Linked DNA regions of Homo sapiens: region 2 is linked to region 1. The links are contacts of gene promoters, found by promoter capture Hi-C in blood cells and fetal thymus (Javierre and others, 2016). All regions are on one chromosome and are shown on one strand. Each heading gives the region's core, a stretch centred on a gene start or on the middle of the fragment in contact. The rest is flanking DNA. Distances are from core to core; before and after follow the strand shown. Region 1 holds the start of PCDHB7 (protocadherin beta 7). Region 2 overlaps PCDHGA1 (protocadherin gamma subfamily A, 1).

Evidence for each region. The method cuts DNA at HindIII sites, captures the fragments that hold promoters and counts their contacts. A CHiCAGO score of 5 or more calls a contact.
Region 2: a contact is called between a fragment that was not itself captured here and the fragment with the promoter of PCDHB7 in region 1, in 2 of 17 cell types (endothelial precursors and fetal thymus). The highest score is 5.7, in endothelial precursors.

Annotation. Positions count from the first base shown.
Region 1 is chr5:141,171,134-141,173,894 of GRCh38, forward strand. It overlaps PCDHB7 (protocadherin beta 7), which reads left to right and starts at 1,511. Exons shown (of 1, transcript NM_018940.4): 1 at 1,511-2,761. The coding sequence starts at 1,703. It also overlaps PCDHB@. The HindIII fragment of the contact is 10,030 bases long and covers 1-2,761 here.
Region 2 is chr5:141,427,689-141,430,388 of GRCh38, forward strand. The region is part of intron 1 of PCDHGA1 (protocadherin gamma subfamily A, 1); the gene reads left to right. The region is part of intron 1 of PCDHGA2 (protocadherin gamma subfamily A, 2); the gene reads left to right. The region is part of intron 1 of PCDHGA3 (protocadherin gamma subfamily A, 3); the gene reads left to right. The region is part of intron 1 of PCDHGB1 (protocadherin gamma subfamily B, 1); the gene reads left to right. It also overlaps PCDHGA4, PCDHGB2, PCDHGA5, PCDHGB3, PCDHGA6 and PCDHGA7, and 10 more genes. Among named protein-coding and RNA genes, the nearest start is that of PCDHGA12, 1.5 kb to the right of the region's middle. The HindIII fragment of the contact is 930 bases long and covers 905-1,834 here.

The DNA of each region.
Region 1 (2,761 bases), core at 261-2,760:
GAACTAAGAAAAGTGAGGAGGAAAAGGGCAGAACAAGCCTCTTAGTGCTATTTAATTTTGGACCAAGGTCATATATTATTTTGAAAAAAATGCATTTCAAAATATCAGTAAAGTAGAGCTCTTGCAAGTCTCACCAAGAATAAAAAGGAGTTAAAATGCTAAACATCACTAATAAAAATAGGGATACAATTAAAGGTAAATAACGCAATGAAAACAATTCCAAGAAATTTGCAAACTAGATAAAATGATTTTCAAAATAAAATGCAAGTTACTTAAAAATACAAAACCTGAACAGATTAATAACCAAAGGTAAAATGTAAATGGTAGTCACTGATCTACTGCAAGTGAAGTCACCAAACCCAACCAGTTTAAAAGACAAGCTGGAATTAAGCATGTAGAAACATATAATAATATAATTATTAAAACTATTGTATAAAATAGATAAAAAGCTCCCTAACACATTCTATGATGCCAGTATAATAGTTTAATACCAAGGCCATAAAAGGCAAACACGCACTAGGTAAACAACATTAACTAGAAAAATCCTAAAACCATGTTGACACATCATATCTATCTGTGCACTAAAACAATAATACATTATGGTTAAATGTCATTTATATCAATAACTCAGTAATTTAGAAACTAAAGAATAAATGTATTATTTCAACAGCTATCAAAAATCACTTCAAAATATGAAAGAATAAAAAGAAAACTTTATTGATTCAAAAAAGGAATATTTACCCCAAATTGAGATCAACCATCATAGTTGAAGATGAAATGCTAGAAGCACTTCCACAAATGCAAGATTGACCAACTTGCTACTACTAATTTTAAGAGTATTCATTGGACATTGGAGATTCTAGTCACTGAAATTATAGAGGAACAATAATTTCTTATGTAATACTTAAATCAGGTGAAGGATGAAGGTTGGGTTTGGGGGAGGCATAAAGTGTTCCAAGAAATATCACAGGTAAAGAGTTAAGACCTGGAAAGTGGAATAATTGTTTAATTCACAAGAAATTGGGAAAAGGGTCAATTATTCTGCCATATTCACATTATTATTGTTAAATACTTTACAAATAAATAAAATGTCCCCAACCAATATTTGTTGACTTCAAGGAGGAGGTTTCATTTTCTCATATATATTTTTACTATCCATTTTTAAAATAGGAGATTTTCTTAGGATTTCGGTGGGGAGTCAGAGTTTAGTTTCATGCTCCTAGATTTAAGAAGACTATAAATTAATTCTTCTACGAATCCAGATTATCACAGGGGAAAACGACATCAGCTATTACTTACTAGCATTACTGTGACCATTTGAGGATAAAGATGGAATGAAACAGCAAAGATACCGGGGACAAATCATTCTTGTTGCAGAATTCCTTCAATCCGCCATCTTTTTGTTCTAGTCTTGATAACGGGAATAACATCCACAAAACGCAAGGTGGCGCTGCTGGCTAAAAAGAGAGAGAGAAAAATAATTTCACAAAGAAAGGATGTTACAGATTCCAGAGCAAAGAGGCAATCTGAAGAGAAAAGCATAGGAAAGGAAACAGTGGTAATAGGAATTGGGGTAAAATGAGGATCCTTCCCCACAAACATTGCTATTATTCAGCTCATTTCAAAGGATTCCGCTGCTGCCATTTGTGAGAGCCGCTGGAGGCTGAGTGAAAGTCATTTTGAAAGACTGATCCAAAGAAGAATGGAGGCCAGAGTGGAGCGTGCTGTGCAGAAAAGGCAAGTCTTATTTCTTTGTGTATTTCTGGGAATGTCTTGGGCTGGCGCCGAACCGCTTCGGTATTTTGTGGCGGAGGAAACCGAGAGAGGCACCTTTCTTACCAACTTGGCAAAAGACCTAGGGTTAGGGGTAGGGGAACTGAGAGCCCGGGGAACTAGAATTGTTTCAGACCAGAACATGCAAATTTTACTGCTCAGTTCGCTTACTGGTGATCTACTTCTAAATGAGAAATTGGACCGAGAGGAACTGTGTGGCCCCAGAGAGCCCTGTGTGCTGCCTTTCCAGTTGTTATTGGAAAAACCTTTTCAGATTTTCCGTGCTGAACTATGGGTCAGAGACATCAATGATCACGCTCCAGTATTTCTAGACAGAGAGATTTCCTTGAAAATATTAGAAAGTACCACTCCAGGGGCGGCATTTCTCCTAGAGAGTGCACAGGATTCAGATGTTGGAACCAACAGCCTGAGTAACTACACCATCAGCCCCAATGCCTATTTCCATATTAATGTCCATGATAGCGGGGAGGGGAATATCTATCCCGAATTGGTGCTGAATCAAGTGCTGGATCGGGAAGAGATACCAGAGTTCAGTTTAACCCTCACCGCTTTAGACGGCGGCTCTCCTCCAAGATCAGGGACCGCCCTCGTGCGCATTCTGGTTCTAGACGTAAATGACAACGCCCCTGATTTTGTGCGGTCGCTCTACAAGGTGCAGGTGCCCGAAAATAGCCCCGTTGGTTCCATGGTTGTCTCCGTGTCAGCCAGAGATTTAGATACCGGAAGTAATGGGGAAATAGCCTATGCATTTTCTTACGCCACTGAAAGAATTCTCAAAACGTTTCAAATCAATCCAACATCTGGCAGTCTTCATCTTAAAGCGCAATTGGACTATGAGGCAATTCAAACTTACACATTAACTATTCAGGCCAAAGACGGCGGCGGGCTTTCTGGAAAATGCACTGTAGTGGTTGATGTAACAGATATAAACGATAATCGACCCGAGCTGCTCCTGTCTTCACTTACT
Region 2 (2,700 bases), core at 120-2,619, 260 kb after region 1:
ATCCCACAAGTCAGCGCCTCTGACCTGGACCTAGGGCTGAATGGCCAAGTCTCCTACTCCATCGTTACCACTGACTTGGAGCTGCGGGCACTGTCGTCCTACGTGTCCGTGAGCGCACAGAGCGGGGTGGTGGTCGCGCAGCGTGCCTTCGACCACGAGCAGCTGTGCGCCTTCGAGCTCACGATGCAGGCCCACGACCAGGGCTCGCCCGCGCTCAGCGCCAACATGAGCCGGCGCATGTTGGTGGGCGACCTCAATGACAATGTGCCGCGGGTGCTGTACCCCGCGCTGGGGCCCGATGGCTCCGCACTCTTCGATATAGTGCCACGCGCCGCAGAGTCCGGCTACCTGGTGACCAAGGTGGTGGCGGTGGACGCAGATTCGGGACACAACGCTTGGCTGTCCTACCACGTGCTGCAGGCCATCGAGCCCGGGCTTTTCAGCCTGGGGCTGCACACGGGAACCTGCTGGTTGCTGTGCGTGACGGAGGACAGCCGCCGCTCTCTGCGCCGCTACGCTTCACCTAGTCTTCGCAGACAGCCTGCAGGAGGCACTGCCAGACTTCAGTGACAGTCCTGTGCCCTCTGATTCCCAAGCAAAGCTGCAGATTTACCTGGTCGTGGCCTTGGCCTTGATTTCTATGCTCTTCTTCCTCGCAGTGATTTTGGCGGTCGCCTTGCACCTGCGATGCTCTTCCAGCCCCTCTGCCTGGGGTTGCTTTCACCCTGGTCTCTGTTCTAAGACTAGACCAGGGGTTTTTCCCAACTACAATGAGGGAACTTTGCTTTATTCCTGCAATCTGTATGTTCCCTCGGATTCTAGAAAAAGAAGATTTAATTTTCTCACCATGACACCAGAAACAGTCCCCCCACAAGATCTTTCTAATGAAGTTTCTCTGGTAGCAAGCTTCACTGAAGAGAATAACAAGATAAGCTCTAACTCTGTTGCTCCTACTCACGTGAGTTCCAATGAATGTCTTTCATTTACAAATGGATGAGGTTTAATTTTCAAACCAATATTTTGGCAAGAAAATCTTAAACATATTATATCTACTATTGCTTCAGGTTTGTTTGCCCACTCTTAATATTTCCTGTTCCTTTCTGTGTGGGCCAGTAACTTCATTATTAGCTTTCATGTATTTTTGAAACATTTTCACCATTTTTACGGGAGACTTTTTTTTTTTTTGGACGGAGTCTCGCTCTGTGGTCCAGGCTGGAGTGCAGTGGCATGATCTCGGCTCACTGCAAGCTCTGCCTTCCGGGTTCTGGCCATTCTCCCGCCTCAGCCTCCCGGGTAGCTGGGACTACAGGCGCCCGCCACCACGCCCGGCTAATTTTTTGCATTTTTAGTACAGACGGGGTTTCACCGTGTTAGCCAGGATGGTCTCGATTTCCTGACCTCGTGATCTGCCCGCCTCGGCCTCCCAAAGTGCTGGGATTATAGGCGTGAGCCACTGCACCCGGCCCGGAGACATTGTTTATACACACACACACACACACACACACACACACACACACGTGTGAAAAGTGGGTATTATGATACTGCTGTCATTGAGATATTTTAATTGAGGAATAAATTTTTTTCCTGTGATGTTTCTTGGGACATCAATATTTGAGTATATAAGGCTTTTTCTTTAATCCATTAACTATAAATTTTGAAGAAAATGCATGAGAAAATGGAGAAAATGTGTTTTTTTTTTAAAAAAAATTGAGATTAAGGTCTCATTATGTTGCCCAGGCTGGACTCAAACTCTTGGGCTACAGTAATCCTCCCACCTCAATCTCCAGAGTAGCTGAGACTACAGTTGCCTGAAACTGTGCCTGGCAGAGAAAAAAGCTTAAAAAAATAAGAACATGGTAATGATTTGATAATATTCAGTTACATTTACTTTTGATTCTTGTAATTCAAGTAAACTCAATTTTATGTCTGATATTTTCTCACAGCTACCTATATATTTCTTCCCAATTTAAAATATATTATTTTATTTTATGCCTAGCAAATATCTTTACAGTATAAATATTTACGCTCATGAAAGTACGTAGCCAGTTATTTCTTAGGGAGAATTTTTTCCCTATATTTTGATGGGCTTCCAAAAGTATTACCAGTAATTCTCAGTAATTACAATTAGGTCAGTTACCCAGGAAAAGGTAAGTCTGTAACATTCTTTGGACTACCAATTTTCTTTTACTAAGTTTCCTGAACAATAAATATTTTTGAAATATAATGTATTAATAGAATTCTGGAGTACTTCCATTATTTCCAGTCAATGCAAGTTGGAATGCTTCTACTTTATGCTAAAAATATTAATGTTTCTTTTTCACTTGGGTTCTTGTTAAGTGTGATTCTGATAATGTATACAATCACATATCATTTTTAGGTTTCCATAATATCATGAAAATTTGATTTTTAAGCGTTACATGTCAACAACCTGGTAAAGTAATCCTTCCATTCAGGATCATTCAAGGAATCTATTTAAAAATATTTTCCCCAAATTATAGCTGAATCAGAAAGTTTAAATTATTATATTATATGATTTGTCAAAAAGAGAAACTCCTAGGGAGACATCTCCATAATAGGTGTGTTGGGGGAACAGTAATCTCAAAGCAGATGCACTAACATTATAAGATTAAAATCATTGTTTATAGAAACTTCCAATTCATTTAAAAGCTCATTGGGGAAAAAAAAGCTCATTGGGAAAAA